2 separate regions of the Homo sapiens genome follow, and region 2 is linked to region 1. The links are contacts of gene promoters, found by promoter capture Hi-C in blood cells and fetal thymus (Javierre and others, 2016). All regions are on one chromosome and are shown on one strand. Each heading gives the region's core, a stretch centred on a gene start or on the middle of the fragment in contact. The rest is flanking DNA. Distances are from core to core; before and after follow the strand shown.

The links. The method cuts DNA at HindIII sites, captures the fragments that hold promoters and counts their contacts. A CHiCAGO score of 5 or more calls a contact.
Region 2: a contact is called between a fragment that was not itself captured here and the fragment with the promoter of GPR146 in region 1, in 2 of 17 cell types (naive B cells and M1 macrophages). The highest score is 5.8, in naive B cells.

Annotation. Positions count from the first base shown.
Region 1 is chr7:1,040,616-1,048,546 of GRCh38, forward strand. It overlaps GPR146 (G protein-coupled receptor 146), which reads left to right and starts at 3,931. Exons shown (of 2, transcript NM_001303473.2): 1 at 3,931-4,043. All of the region lies in intron 2 of CHLSN (cholesin), which reads right to left. RefSeq lists enhancers at 39-546, 1,054-1,561, 3,050-3,605 and silencers at 3,711-4,200, 4,381-4,430. The HindIII fragment of the contact is 2,309 bases long and covers 2,202-4,510 here.
Region 2 is chr7:1,149,321-1,157,251 of GRCh38, forward strand. ZFAND2A (zinc finger AN1-type containing 2A) reads right to left here. Exons shown (of 5, transcript NM_182491.4): 4 at 6,133-6,264; 5 at 3,587-3,904. The coding sequence ends at 3,749. Among named protein-coding and RNA genes, the nearest start is that of ZFAND2A, 6.9 kb to the right of the region's middle. The HindIII fragment of the contact is 2,743 bases long and covers 5,311-7,931 here.

The DNA of each region.
Region 1 (7,931 bases), core at 2,681-5,180:
ATGTTTGGGACCTGGGAGTCATTGAGGAATTCTTAACCATGACACCAAAAGCAGATCCTTAAAATTAAAAAGAACAAAAAAAAAAAAAAGGATAAATTAGACTTCACCAAAATTAAAAAGAAAACAGCCTTTTCTCTGCAAAACCCTCATTAAGAGGATGTAAGAGATAAGCTATGGACTGGGACAAAATATGTACAAACCACACATACACAAAAGCCTAGCGTCTAGAACACATAAACAACGAGAAGGCGCAGCTCGGAGCAGGGCTGGGAGGATGAGCAAAGGCAGACGTGCCGGCTGCAGCCGCGCTCCGTGAGTGAGTGGCTGCTGCATGCCGGGCCTCCAGCTGACAGTGCCTCCCGGGGTCAACCCGAAGCCAGAGGCTCGGCAGTATGCTGGAGACCCATCCTGGGCACCTCCCACGTTCCCTGTGGGAACAGCTGCTTCTGCAGAACATGGAAAAGGTCCAGGCTGGAAGCTGTGCAGACGGAATTTAGGAAGAGGGAATGGAGAGACTGCAGGAGGGAGGGAGGCCCCTGCACGGCAAGGTGGTGGCCACATGCTCCAGAATAGGACTTGGGCTCCGCACTGCAGGGAACGGGACCTGGGCTCCGCGCTGCGGGGAAGGGGACCTGGGCTCCGCGCTGCGGGGAAGGGGACCTGGGCTCCGCGCTGCGGGGAAGGGGACCTGGGGTCCGCGCTGCGGGGAAGGGGGCCTGGGGTCCGCGCTGCGGGGAAGGGGGCCTGGGGTCCGCGCTGCAGGGGAACGGGACCTGGGGTCCGCGCTGCGGGGAACGGGACCTGGGGTCCGCGCTGCGGGGAAGGGGACCTGGGCTCTGCCCAGGGACTCCACAATTCCTTACTAATGTTACTGCCGTTTATGGGGGCTCTGAACAACACCACGTTTTACTAACACATGCACAGAGTGTCAGATGATGACATGCTGTCTCACTTATGCTAAGGCTCACTCTCATTTTATCATCTGTAACGTCAGGGTGCGCCTTATAATCAACAGGCCACAAAGAAAGTCACAAGCCATACTCACAAGAACTAGGAAGTTCGTTGCAAAATATTCCTTGTCCGTGATCAGCACGGCACACACTATCAGACTCACTCTGCCAACACAATCACTAGAGAAGGTTCATCTCCGAGGGGAACGCCAGCCAGCTTTTCCCACCACTCCCCGCCCCCCCGAGAAAGCCCACGTGCAGACAGACCCAGGCCAGCTGGGCCCCTCTCCAGCTCCTGACCAGCAGCCCCGGATCCCTGGGTGGCGTGCAGCTGACCTTCCGGACCGCCACTCAGAATAAGCAAGAAAGCCTGCCGACCCGCCTGAATGCGGCAGGGGAAGGGGAAGGGCGGCCCCAACATCTCCGTGAGACACGCGGCTGCATCACAGCAGCCTCGGCAGTGCGCGGGGCTGCAGAATCAGGTGCACAACTAGGGCATCCCCCACCCGCAACACACACGGCACACAGGAGCCTCGGCAGTGTGCGGGGCTGCAGAATCAGGTGCACAACTAGGGCACCCCCCACCCGCAACACACACGGCACACAACCACAGAGGCACGGCCCCAGGCCAGGAGCGCACAACTGCCCTCAAATGCCCTCAGCAGCCACGGCACACAGCCACAAACACATGACCCCAGGCCAGGAGCACACAACTGCCCTCAAACACCCTCAGCAGCCACACAGGGGAGGCCACGTCCACGTGACTTCAACCATCAACACTAGACTAGGGTGCAACCGCGAAGCTGAGTCAGGGCCACACGCCCCCCTACGCCCCAATCTGTGCCCACCCTTCCCCCCACCAACTGAGTCTTGTACAGGGGCTGGCCAGGACCCTTGGATACGCAGCTGCAGCCTCTGGAGAGTGTTTACACCTCCAGCTACGAGTACTTATTGTGGTTCAGGTGGAGGGTGGTTCCCTCTGACGATCTCCCCAGGACACACACGAGCTTTCTGCCATTCTCCCTGGCAGGACTGGCCTGCTTGGCACAGGAAGTCTCTGCAGATAAGGCGGTCTGCAGTGACCTGAAAGCTCAGTGGCTCAGAGGAAGCTAACCTCTAGCATTCCCCAGCCACAGAGCACCCCTGTGGGTAGGACCCACAGAGCCTGGCATTACAGGGACCAGACAGCACGGTGCATACTCTGACCAGGGATTCTGAGGTCTTGGGCCATTTATACCATGGAGATAACGAAGCTTACTCTTAGGCGGGCTGCTAGGAGGGCCCAAAGTCCCAAACCCTGATCTAAAAAGCCAGAATACCCCTGGGTTCAAATCCTGGCTCCACGGCCTGCAGTGTGACCTGGGCTAAGTTGCTTAAGTTTTCACAATTAAATTTAAAATGCATGGCCGGGCACAGTGGCTCACACCTGTAATCCCAGCACTTTGGGAAGCCCAGGCAGGCGGATCACTTGAGGTCAGGAGTTCGAGACCAGCCGGACCAACATGGTGAAACCCCATCTCTACTACAAAAAAAAAAAAAAAAATTAGCTGGGCATGGTGGCACGCACCTGTAATCCCAGCTACTCAGGAGGCTGAGGCTGCAGTAAGCCAAGATCGTGTCATTGCACTCCAGCCTGGGCAACATGACAGAAACTCTGTCTTTAAAAAAAAAAAATATTAAAATGCACATGGTGACCTATCTCATTGACGCTAAGGCGTACTCTCACTTTATCATCTCTAATGTGAGGCTGCGCCTTAAAATCAGCAGTATGTCGGAATGCAGTGGGCAGAGGGCCTTCTTTTTAGTAATCCATAAAGTAATGGCATAGCTAACACTAATCAATCGTGTCTTAGGTTTGATGAAATACGGACGTATCTACCTCAAAACAATGGTTGAGGCTCAGAACAGAACCTGACACAGAATACGCCCTCAGGTATCGGTGTTGGCTGCTTGTGACTGACTTTGGCAAGTAAGATCAGTACCCGGCACCTCTGGGCACACAGGGCCCGGGCTGCATCCACTGTGCCAGGGACCTGGTGCCGGGCTGGGCAGCAAGTCAGTATCACATCAGCAGGCGTGGGCCGTGGTGAGCCTCTCCCTGCCCTCCCGCTGGAATAGAAAGCTGATCCCGACGTCCCACTCCGACCCACGGTCAGGAAGCCGTCCTGTCCAGGAAGGTGGCTGAGGTACATCCCTGAACACAGTAGGCCACAGCATCATGCAGCGGAGGGCCAGTGGCCGCTATTCTTCCTGCTGGTGTTCCACTCGGCCCGCAGCTCACAGCAAGTCTATGCGGAACTGTGCAACCCACATGCTTTGATTTTCAGAAATGTTCTTAGATCCTGAACCAGAATGTGCTGCAGGGGGGACTGTTTCACCTCAAAAATTACAGCAAAGTAAATGTCCTTGTTTCAACTTTTCCAATGTTTAACTTGTAACAATAGCTACAAAAGTAATCAGGCAGCAATGTGTTTCTTTAAACGGCTTTCCTGTGAGTGTTCCGTTTACAAAGAAAATCCTAAAACCAGGAAGTAATTGGTGACTTTGGAAACAGCAAGCAAACTTCGGTGAAGAAAGAGGGGCAGGTGTACCTGGAAGGACTAACTTGCAGCCACTCATTTCCTTTGGAGGGCGGTGGGGCCTGCACCCTGCAGATTAGGGTATATTCTGACTCAGCAAAATAGGCACCAGCGCCTGTAAAAAGAAACCGCGCTGGGCACTAAGAGAATTCTCAAAAACTCCCAGAGCCCTGGGTGTGTGTCCTCCCACAGGGAATCTCGCACGAGTTCGTCAAATGGCTGGTCTCAGGTTACACAACCAGCACTGCCTCCACCGCCACCGCCCCCCAACCTCACTGGTCCGAGCGGTTCCCCGCGGTCTAGCCGCGAGGGCGGGGCCGGGGGGCGGAGGCCAGGGCGGGACCAAGGCTGGGGGCGGGGCCAGGCATGGCTGCCGCTCGCCGGCCGGGGGCGGGGCCGACGGTCACGTGTGTACACAGGGCCCGGGCGGCGTGCGCGCCGTGAGCCCCGCCGCCTCCGCCAGCCCGAGCTGCCCGCCCGGCGGCGACTGCGCCGGCCGCCGCCCAGCAAGCCGGTGAGTGGGGCCCGGGAGCCTGGGTCGGGTCGGTGGGGCACACCCCAGTCTCCGCCTGGGGAGGGAGCCAGCCCCAAGCTGCTGTGGCTCCCACGGCGGGCGCTGCGCTTACTGGGACCCGGGTCCTCTGGCCGCTGCCCACTGCGGGGCTCCGTGCCCTTGCCAGGAGGGGACCGCTGTCCTCCGGCCGCGCTCCGAGCTGAGCCCCGGGGGCGGGCTTTCGGTCATTAACCTGGTGATGGCAGCTGAATCTGCTGCTGGCGTAGGCGGCACAGCGCCGCCACCGGCTCTCCCATGTCCGACAGGGCACCACTGATCCTGCTCTCCTGGGCCACTATGGTGACTGCTTTCGGCCCCTTCTGTGATTAGTATTTTAAAGTGAGTTTTGGATCTGTGTCTACATGGAGGTGTCGGATCTGCTGTCAGTTGTCTTGGACAGTTGGCAGGGCATGGGACGGCTCTTTCAAAGCTTCACTGGAAGGCAGTGCTCTCCAGCCGCCAAACCACCACTACCAGCAGCAGAAAACCCACTATTAAGTTAGTATTACAAACCTGGCAAGTCAGTTCTCTAAATTAGGCATAAGTCTATGAATCTTGATGTGACTGGTCACAGTGGCTTATCTCTGCATGCATGCTACGTGGTGGACCAGAGGATAATTCTGTATTCGTCGTCCACAGCCTTTGATCTCTTCCCTGCCCATGAAGATGTACTTGAGTCCTCCATTCCACTTTAAATAGCCAGCTCCTGTCCACACGGAACAGCACGACATCTTTTATCTTTTGCTACCTGCAGCACCTAGCAGAGGCCAGCATTCAATAACAGAGGGCCAAGAGGCTTGCTTTAAAGGCCTCTGCAAACTTGTATGAGTAAAATGGTTCTGACCATGTTCCCAGGCTCCTCACGCATAGTGGTGATGAGATAGTCTACCGTCCTAACTGGGGCACCGTTGAGAGTGAACGGAGGCACTGTTAATAATTAGACGAAGTGCACACTCACAGTACCCATGACCTGCTGTGCAGCTCCTTCAAGAACTACTGTAAGGCCTGGCTCCCCAACCAGAACCCCTGTTGTCTTCCTCAATGAAGAAGGCCTCTGAAGACAAGTGACTTAAGAACATAGTTTATATGTATTGAATACTGTTGTGCCTTTTCACAGAGAAGAGGTCGGGGCCAGAGCAGCTCACTGCCCGACGCCACACACATCCGTGCTGGCGTCCACGTGTCATCCTGCCTCTCTAGCCAGCATGGACATATCCTGAGGATGGAGGACAGAGGAACACAGATTTAGGGCAGAATGTAAATGTGAAAGTTGACTTGGAGTCCCTGCAACTCATAAGCCCCAGTAGGCTGATGAAGAGAGAAGGGCAAAGGGCGCGCACCTCATGTGGGTCTTAGGTTAGGATGTAAAGGCTGATTATGTCTATCATACAATGAATCAATGGCATACTGCACAGATCGCTGCATGGGGAAATATGCTCGTGTAATTTACAGTCGGAAGAGGGACATGCTGCTCACTGGGGCAGGGAGAAGAAGGGGCTCCTCAGGGAGCTGCAGCTCTCACAGCCCCTAGGATGTCACCTGGAATCCTGAAAAAATAACTGCCGCCTGGCCTTTAATGACCCAACCACAGCGAGGTCTTGCCTTTGCAGAAGGAAATTATCACCCAGAGAACCCGGCCGACCGTGTCATGCACACGACGATCCCACGGTGCTGTTTTCTGTCAACAGTGTTTCCCAGCCATTCCCTCCTGCCTGCCAGCTCCTCTGCTCTCCAGGGCTTTCACTAACCCACCTGCCCAACTGACCAGCATTAGGCTGTCCAGTTAGCCCACATCTGTCCAGGGGTCTCAAAGGCTCAGGACCCCAAGACACCATCCAGGTAGCCAAGAGGACAGGGAACCCAGTCTGGAGAGTAGAATAACGTTTCGCTCCAATTTGAGATCCCAAAATGAGATGCTGCCCGGGACCAGAAGTCAGTTTCTTAGGAGCGTGCTGTCTACCCAGGAGCCTCCGTGTGCAAACAAAATACCCCCTTGAGCAGCAGAGGGACAAGGTGGAGGTGGGGCAGGTGTCTGTTCATCCCCACAGAGCCACACCCAGGTCCCTTCCTGCAAAGGCCAAGGACTTTCCCCATTTTAATTGGAACCAAAGCAAGCCTTGCAGACCACTGTCGCTACCACAGCTAGTGTGATGAGGAGAAATAACCTGCTGGCTCCTCCCTGGGAAACAACCAAGGTGGTGATAAGATCTGCGGCTCAGAGCACTTCCCTGCAGGTTAAGGCCACGCCTAGTAAACCGGGGCTCGACTGAGGAGCCCCGGCAGGTGCCAAGCCTGCCCAGAGTCTGCAGTAGAGACTCTCTGTTCTTGGCCATGTCTTTGAATTTCTGAGGAAGTCTTTTTTGTTTGTTTTTGTTTTTCCCTGGTCTGATGTACCTGGAGAGGGAATTAGCCTCACACCCAGTTAGGGAACAAAAAGCCAAGTAAACAAAAGAATGCTGTTCCACCTTCCTCCAGGGAACTGGCGCCCATAGCTGCAGGCACAGGTGCCCAGCCCGCTCACTGGCCCAGCAAGGTGCTTGGTCTCAGGCCCCCAGAGCCCGTCCTGGAGCCGCAAACATGCTCGCTATTATCCATGGAAAAAGAGAGGCATTCTCTTTGTTTATAGTCTAAGCCAAGTCACCTGATTCACTCTCACTACTCTGCAGTTTGGAATTGTAAAAAGCAAAAGGCTACAAAAATCAAAACCATCCACCTATGTAATGAACCATTTCTTATCACAGCCCAGGAAGGCACAGATAGGAATCAGTGTGCGTAAGCTCTCCACGTGGAAACCCTGTGAAAACAGCAGCCTTTCCTAAGCATCTGGCTCCTAGGAGCTGGATGTTAATTGTTGCTAAAGCCTGGGTTCATTACTACAAAAGAAAATAAACATTCCAGAGTCATTTTGAAAGCATTTTGATTGTTCTAGAATATTCACCCAAGGTTGAGCGTCTCATGGTGCATGGCAGGTTCGGCCAGGAGCTGGCCGTGGCCTTTCCACTCCTTTCCTGCCATCCTGAGGATGCAGTGCCTGGGGCCTCGCAGTTCTCTTTCCACTCAAATCTAAGGCTCTAAAGCTTCAACAACTGTCCGGGGACAATAAGAAGCGCTGAGTCCCCATCCTGCCTGCTCTCCTTTCTACTCAGTGGGGAAATTGGATCACTCGCCTTGGTGGATCACTCGCCTTGGGGAAAAGCCTTTTACGTCACTGAATACATCCCCTTCTACGGTTTTCATCCAACAGTCAGCCAGGCTGCTGCAGCACACATAAAAACTTCCCCTGCCTGCAAAGAGCTCCAAGTAGGTGGGAAAGAGATGGATGTGCGGACAGGCTTAACCCAGCAAAGACTGGCGGAGGGGTGTGGAGACAGTGGTCAGGGGTGGGTTCCCGGGGGTACTGATGCCCAAAATAAAATGTCAAGGACGAGCCAGTGTTTGCTGAGAGAACGAGGGGAAGCGAGAAAGGGTGTTCTAGGCAAGGGATCAACATCCGCAAAAGACAGTGTGAAAGAGAGCACCCGGAAACTTCGTGGGGATCACCGGGCGTGGGACTTGCCGGCCCCAGCTCTGACAGGGCCCTAAGCAACAGAGGAAAGAACTTCCCGACTAACAGGGACAGCAACATCAAAAGCGATGGCTTTTGTGAAACTAATTCAGCCACCTTGGAGCAGAGGATTCCTCTGCTGGTTTCTGTTTCTGCCAGCTCTGTGCAGTGCAGGCGCTATGATGCTCTCTCTCTCTCACACACACATACAGGGACCCGGGTGCCTCTCAGGTTGAGAGGGGTGGTCACCATCCCCACACTCAGGCCCCCTCTGTCTCCAGGCCTGCTGCTTCTGAACAGGCCTG
Region 2 (7,931 bases), core at 5,432-7,931, 110 kb after region 1:
AGGCCAGAGGTGCTGCAGACGCAGGGAAGTGGCTTGTCCAAGTGCAGTCCCAGACCAGACGTGTCACCCGGGCAGCTCCAGGTGTAAACCTGAGTCCACCTCAGACCACAGAACCAGGGCCTCGGGGTGGGGTCCAGCACCCTCCCGTAAGGAGCCCTGTGTTTTGACACAGGCTAGGGCTTGGGAACCGCCGGCCTAGGACAGACACCATGAAATAAGCATAGCAACGGTCACATGTCACCCACCGTCAGGGATGTGCACGGCCAGGTGATTGCATTGTCGTGCAAGCATCCTACAGGGACTTACACAGAGCTCGATGGTGCGGCCTCCTCCACACCCAGGCTGTAGGGCATAGCCTGTGGCTCCCAGGCTACAAATGCGTGCAGAGTGCTACTGCGCTGAATGCTGTAGGCCACTGCGGCACGGCGCTGCGTGTTTGTGCTTCCAAACCTAGGCGTGGTGCGGTCCAGCTTGCTGGGAGGATTCCATCCCAGTGTTCTGTGGGACTGCAGGGTGACTAGCTTGTTCTTAAGTTTTTTTTTTTTTTTTTGAGATGGAGTCTTGCTCTATCACCCAGGCTGGAGTGCAATGGCACGATCTCTGCTCACTGCAACCTCTGCCTCCCGGGTTCAAGCGATCCTCTTGCCTCAGCCTCCCAAGTAGCTGGGATTACAGGCATGCACCACCACGCCCGGCTAATTTTTGTATTTTTAGTAGGGACAGGGTTTCATCATGTTGGCCAGGCTGGTCTCAAACTCCTCCAAATACCACAATGTACCCCATCAATATGTACAATTATGTCAATTAAAATAAAAGCAAAAAAGTTTGTCAGATTAAAAAAAAAAGATATAGTGAAAATACAGTATGTTCTGCGATCACCAACATATACACGGTCCGTCATCGACAGAAACATCGTTCCCCTGACTGCAGGTCTGACCACCTTTTTGCAGAACGCCAACAGAATACAAACCCTTCCCGTTACATTTTTAGATGGTGAAAGCAGAAAAAAAAAAGGCAGTGGCTTGTGTTTTTGTGAACTGTCTCAGCGGGACATCTGGTGGGCACAGCTGGATGGCCAGGGCAGTTCAGAACAGGACAGAACTTGGGGGAATTTTGTTTCACCTTATTCCCTGACACCCCCTAAGTTCCCAGGAAATCACTGCACTCTTGATGAGCAGAGCGGCTGTCAGTATAAATCTAACACCAGTATTTACGTTACCCGTGTTCATCACTTCACAAAATCAGACGGTGGTGGAAAGTGTCAGGCCACGAAGGCCGCATCTGTCATCTGAGCCACAAAGGACTGTGCACCTCACTACCCCCCTTCCCTCCCGTTTTGGCTTTCTGCTCTTCAAACCTATAAAACCCAGTCTCCTGTAATCTCTGGCACTTGTGGAAGCCCTAGTTCCTGCCATTGTAGTTTTAAGTCACTTCTGGAAGTTTCCACTGCTTCATCACTGGACAGAGCCATCTTCAACAGGTGGCATTTTGCAACTTTCTTGTTGGTGCTGAAATAGATCCAGGTGCAAAGCAGCTCTCGGGCTTGCTGGCTGCTGACAACTGTGCCTTTTTTTTTTTTTTTTTTGAGATTCAGTCTTGCTCTGTTGCCCAGGCTGGAGTGCAGTGGCACAATCTGGGCTCACTGCAACCTCCGCCTCCCAGGTTCAAGTGATTCTCCTGCCTCAGCCTCCTGAGTAGCTAGGATTACAAGCGTGTACCACCACCACACCTGGCTAATTTTTGTTTTAGTAGACATGGGGTTTCACCATGTTGACCAGGCTGGTCTCAAACTCCTGACCTCAGGTGATCCGCCTGCCTCCGCCTCCCAAAGTGCTGAGATTACAAGCGTGAGCCACTGCGCCTGGCTGAACTGTGCCTGTTTTAAGAAGTTGACCGTGGCAGGGACAAGTGGTCCAGGAAGACACACCTTCTCTCACACAGTGTCCCAGCCCCTTGGAGGTCAGGAACGGGCACGCAGCTGTGCCCTCAAACAATGCGAGTAGCACCTGTGGCCGCCGCTGGACAAGAACCCTCGGCCAGGCAGGTGGATGTCCTTCCCCCTTCTTGGCCAGATAGTCACATCGTTACAGAGGTGACATGGTGAAGAGCGCAAGTGAGCTGTCTGGTGTTTGCTGGTTTTGAACTCCTGACCTTAGGTGATCCACCCACCTTGCCCTCCCAAAGTGCTGAGATTACAGGTGTGAGCCACTACGCCCGGCCTAGTTTGTGTATTTCAGTGGGGAAGTTTCAAGGTTTCAGGCTAACCATCTTCACTAAAATATAAAAGATTAGCCGGGCATGGCAGTTTGGTGCCTGTAATCCCAGCTACTCGGGAGGCTGAGGCAGGAGAATTGCTAGAACCTGGAAGGCAGAGGTGGCAGTGAGCTGAGATTGTGCCACTGCACTCCAGCCTGGGCAATAGAGCAAGACTTCATCCCTTTTAAAAAAAAAAAAGCAAAGCCAGCCAGCATTGAAGCTGGGGATTCCCGTGAAGATGGCCCGGAGGTGCTGCTGGGCCATTAGAAGTATGGGGAGTACCTGAAGGCGGAAGTTACCTAGAGTGGAAATAACCCACACGGCAGTGCAAACGGGAAGGACCTCATCACTTTCCACCAAAAAGAACAAAGAACAGCTCTTTTCAGGTTTGTCTTGATGATGCAGGAATGTTGATCATGTCAGAGGATCTTGGAGGGCAGAAAAGGTGTTTCAGAAACCAGCTGTATGATGCTGCTGCTGCCGAAAGGTTGTGCTGGAGCGAGCTGCTTCTGTAACTTGGGGTCCCAGTCCTGTGTCCTTCATCCATCCTGACGAAGTCGCACCACTGGAGCATCGCGTCACACTGTGCAGTTACACACAGCAACCTTTCCGTGTTCACCAACCAAGAGCTGCAGCACCCCACACAGACGAAATTGCGTTCACATGAGCCGGGTGAACCAGTACCCGAGTCGCTGGGCCAGCCCGCCAGGAGCCAGGGTGAGGAAATCTCCCAACGGCCTGGATTCAGAGACTGTCATGGGTGAGCACCTACAGAGAGGGTGGATGGATCAGCTCAGCCTCCATGTGCTGACCGCAAGAACCCACACAGCTTCCTGCAGGTAAGCAACTACCACTGGCCTGGCCCAGGGATGGACGCCAGACACCACCAGGTGCAACAGTTGAGGCAAATACAGATGCTTCTCGATTTGACAAACATTAGCATTACGAGTTGAATCATGTCCCCACAAGACATGCTGGAGCCCTAGACTCGGGACCTCAGAGTGTGACCTTCTGTGGACACAGGGTCTTTTCAGAGGTCACGACTGTGGGATCACATGACCAGCATCCTTACAAAAAGGGGAAGTCGGGACACACACAGAATGCCATGTGAAGATGAAGGTGGAGACGGGGGTTGTGCATTGACGAGCCCCGAGATGCTGGGGAGACGCAGCCGATGCTCCCCGCAGCCCTCAGAAGGGGCTGGCCCTGCCGACATCCTGCGCCTGGACCTCCAGCCCCCAGAACTGTGAAAGAACCGATTTCTATGGTTTGAGCCACCCAGTTTTTAGTACTTGGTGACGGCAGCAGTGGGCAATGAGAACAACTAGAATCAACTTCAGCATTCAATTTTATTATAGTCCCATCTCCCTCAACAAACAAGATCAGCAGCCAGTGTGGGATGGTGCTCAATGGGGCTCCACTTCCCACTAGAGTGTAAGCTGCTTCCACGCATGCTACTGCGTGCTCCGAGCCATCGCAGCGGAGTCTCTTCTCACCCAGCTTTGATGGTGGGGCGACTCCCGTGTCTGCAGCTGTGGTCCAAAGGGTGTCTGTGCTGGATACAGAAGTTGCCGTGACATTGGGCACATACCATCTGCAGCATCTCTTTCTTCTTGCAGCCCTCTTTTGAGCAACGGTATGTAAAAATCTAAGAGAGCAAAGTGACTTCAACAAGCAATTCTTTTTTTGGAGACAGGGTCTCGCTCTGTTGCCCAGGCTGGAGTGCAGTGGCTTGATCTTGGCTCACTGCAACCTCTGCCTCCTGGACTCAAGTGATTCTCCTGCTTCAGCCTAGTACCTGGTACTACAGGCACACACCGCCACGTCCAGCTAATTTTGTCTATTTTCACAGAGATGGGGTCTTGCCATGCTGCCCAGGCTGGTCTCAAACTCAGCCTCAGGTGATCCTCCCGCCTTGGCCTCCCAAAGTGCTAAGATTACCTGTGTGAGCCACTGTGCTGGCCTTAAATTCTTTAACAGCCTCCGGTAAGAACATTCCCATTTAAACTGGACACAGTTCCTGTCTGCACAGAGTACAGATGCAAAGTTTCATTTGACCATCTCAGTGCAGGTAAGAAGAACATGGGGCTGGACCCAGTGGCTCACGCCTGTCATCCCAGCACTTTGGGAAGCCAAGATGGGTGGATTGCCTGAGCTCAGGAGTTCGAGACAAGCTTGGGCAACATGGTGAAACCCCATCTCCACTAAAATATAAAAGATTAGCCAGGCATGGTGGCGTGGTGCCTGTAATCCCAGCTACTTGGGAGGCTGAGGCAGGAGAATTGCTAGAGGAGGCAGAGGCGGCAGTGAGCTGAGATTGTGCCACTGCACTCCAGCCTGGGCGACAGAGCAAGAGTTCGTCCCTTTAAAAAGAAAGAAAAAAAAAAGCCGGTCAGCATTGAAGCTGGGGATTCCCGTGAAGATGGCCCGGAGGTGCTGCTGGGAGGACAACAGAGAGAGGCAGCCAGGAAGCAGGGAGCGGGAGGGAAGGAGGCCAAGCACAGATGACAGGCAAGCCCCACAGAGGCACTGGCTCCAGGAGCCCTGGGACAGTGGAGGTTGTCCCCATCAAGGGAATATCTATCATGTCCCAGTACCCACCGGTCATTTTTTTTTTTTTTTTTTTTGGTGCCAGGATGTAGGCAGCGATATAAAGTCCTAGGAGTCAGAACTCCAAGAGGGGAAGGCAGTGAGGAGAGTGGGGAGGGTTCCAGCAGCCGGGGGTGGCCCTCCGGCCAAGGCAGGCAGGCATGGCCATGCTGAGCGACCATGCAGGAGGGACCCGTGCAGGGATGCAGGCAGAACACAGGGCGTGCCCACCAAAAGGACAGGAGCACAGCGGGCCAGGAGCAGCCGGGAGGGCATTCCTGTGTGGGGGCCTTGGGGCAGTGCTGGGTGAGCCCCCAGCAAGGGAAGCTGTGTCATGTGGAAGAAGCGGGTGTGCCAGAGAGCTGTGATGTCTCAGAGGCTTAAGAGACCTCCAGAGGCTGAGGGTCCCAGGGCACAGCCACAGCAGGGAGAGCTAGACAGGGCCAGAAAGTGGGGACCAGAGCAAGCTTCCGCACAGAGAATTTTGTGTGGCAGACTAAGGAACACTGATTTTATTCTCTATGTTTGAGACCAAAAGTTATTTGGTTTATGGTAATATAACTGTAAAGTATTGAACATCATATACTAAGATAGTTGGTAACCACCAACCAGGACCCATGACTAGGAACGGATTAAGCCTGACAGCAGCCAGTTCACTAGAGAAGCTCCTTGAGCTGGGCGTGGTGGCTCACACCTATAATCTCAGCACTTTGGGAGGCTGAGGCGGGCAGATCATAAGGTGAGGAGTTCAAGACCAGCCCGGCCAACATAGTGAAACCCTGTCTCTACTAAAAATACAAAAGTTAGCTGGATGTGGTGGCATGCGCCTGTAGTCCCAGCTACTCGGGAGGCTGAGACAGGAGAATCGCTTTAACCCGGGAGGCAGAGGTTGCAATGAGCCGAGACGGCACCATTCACCATGGCACTCCAGCCTGGGTGACAGAGCAAGACTGTCTCAAAACAAACAAACAAACAAACAAACAAATGAAACGCACATGAACAGAATGGATCTAGAAAGCCATGTGAATTCTCCATCTCAGGAGGGAAACTAGTAAATTCCAGTCAAGAAAGACGAACCTGACCTGGGATCCCTCATATTAAAGAACATTTATAAAACTGAAAACTCAGGCCCCTCGCAGTTTAGGACAGGGATAACGCAGCGTTAGGACTCTTCTTTTCTACTTTGTACATAAACTATTGGGAGTAATTTTCAGGTAGCAAACTGACTCTTCCCAAGGAAAAACCAGGCTTCCCAGATGAAGGAACTGAGGCGGGCTCTGTCCTTACCTTCTCTTTCTTCTTCCCAGGGTGAGAGTCACAGTCTCTGTCAATGTGATCACCAACCACCACGTCTGGTATCTGGCCCTTTTTTACTGGGATGGGGGTATTACAGAGTGGGCATACTGGGACGTGAACATCCTAAAAATAACAAAGGTAAGATGGCATCTGAGACTCATGCAACTTAAACTCACAGAAGTTTTAAACGAGTACTCCTGTGCGGCACACTTAAACACAAAGAGAGGACAAAAACCGGTCTCCCGAGCCCTCCGAGAACAAAGCATCACTGGGTCATGGATTAGCGGCAGCCATCTCTAGAATGTGGGCATCAGCTGCCCTGAGGAGTCTAGTGAAGTTTCAACGAATGGACTTCAGCCGACTGCAGAAACCAGCTGGGGCCATCTCAGGCTGGCACCGCCCAGGTGAGAACAGAGCCTGCCCAGACACCTCCACAGGGAGGAGATGGAGGGAAACATGGACCACAAAGACCCTCCAGCTCCCCTCAGTCGCCAACGGCCTGATCCCTTTGCGGTTTCCCCAGTGGCTTCTACGTACACAGAGAGTTGCTTGCGCCCAGATGAGGCCACGTGTACCTAGGGTGAGCTCCCAGGTACTAACGACCGTCACTGGCTGCAGGCCAAGGTTGTGAGGGCTCCAAAGGGGTGGACCGCCCAGCAAGGCTAAAAACCTGAGCTGGGGGCTCCGAAGGGGTGGACTGCCCAGCAGCTGAAGGCCCAGCAAGGCTAAAAACCTGAGCTGGGGGCTCCGAAGGGGTGGACCGCCCAGCAGCTGAAGGCCCAGCAAGGCTAAAAACCTGAGCTGGGGGCTCCGAAGGGGTGGACCGCCCAGCAGCTGAAGGCCCAGCAAGGCTAAAAACCTGAGCTGGGGGCTCCGAAGGGGTGGACCGCCCAGCAGCTGAAGGCCCAGCAAGGCTAAAAACCTGAGCTGGGGGCTCCGAAGGGGTGGACCGCCCAGCAGCTGAAGGCCCAGCAAGGCTAAAAACCTGAGCTGGGGGCTCCGAAGGGGTGGACCGCCCAGCAGCTGAAGGCCCAGCAAGGCTAAAAACCTGAGCTGGGGGCTCCGAAGGGGTGGACCGCCCAGCAGCTGAAGGCCCAGCAAGGCTAAAAACCTGAGCTGGGGGCTCCGAAGGGGTGGACCGCCCAGCAGCTAACGCCCAGCATGGCTAAAAACCTGAGCCAGGGCAGGAATTGATGGAAAGGTCAATGAGAAAACCGAGGTGGCAACCGACATGGAACGGGTGGCAGGTGCTCACGGAATTATGAGCACACCCGTCTACAGCCCGAGCTGGGAGAGTCACAGGTGGTGGTGCTTCCTCATTTGGTCAAATGAAATAAAGTATTAGTAAACGGTCTCCAGCCAGACCCCACCCCATGCTGGGGCAGGAAGGGGCAGTGGGAAGACAAGCTGGGCAGTCTGGCTTAGTCATCCGTGCCTAGTAAACGCAGGGAATGTGAGTCACCCTCCCCACCCACCGTGATGGCCTAAAAATGGCTGGAGGGTCAGACCCTGGCCAACACTGGTCAAAGCACAGAATGCTGGGCCACCCACATTACCACTGCCACCACGGTCAAGTGGCAGAGTTCACTAAAATGACCTGTGACCCATCCAGAGACAAAGTAAACACGGGCTGGGAACCATCTGAAAAGTCAACAACAAGTCTCAAACCTCTGGACTCGGGGCAAGCTCATTTCCTTAGGTCCTCTTTCAGTTTCTGCTGTGTACTCTGGGAGTCACCTAAATACTATGTCAAGGCTGCAGTTATTCAAATCAATAAGCGTATTTACTGC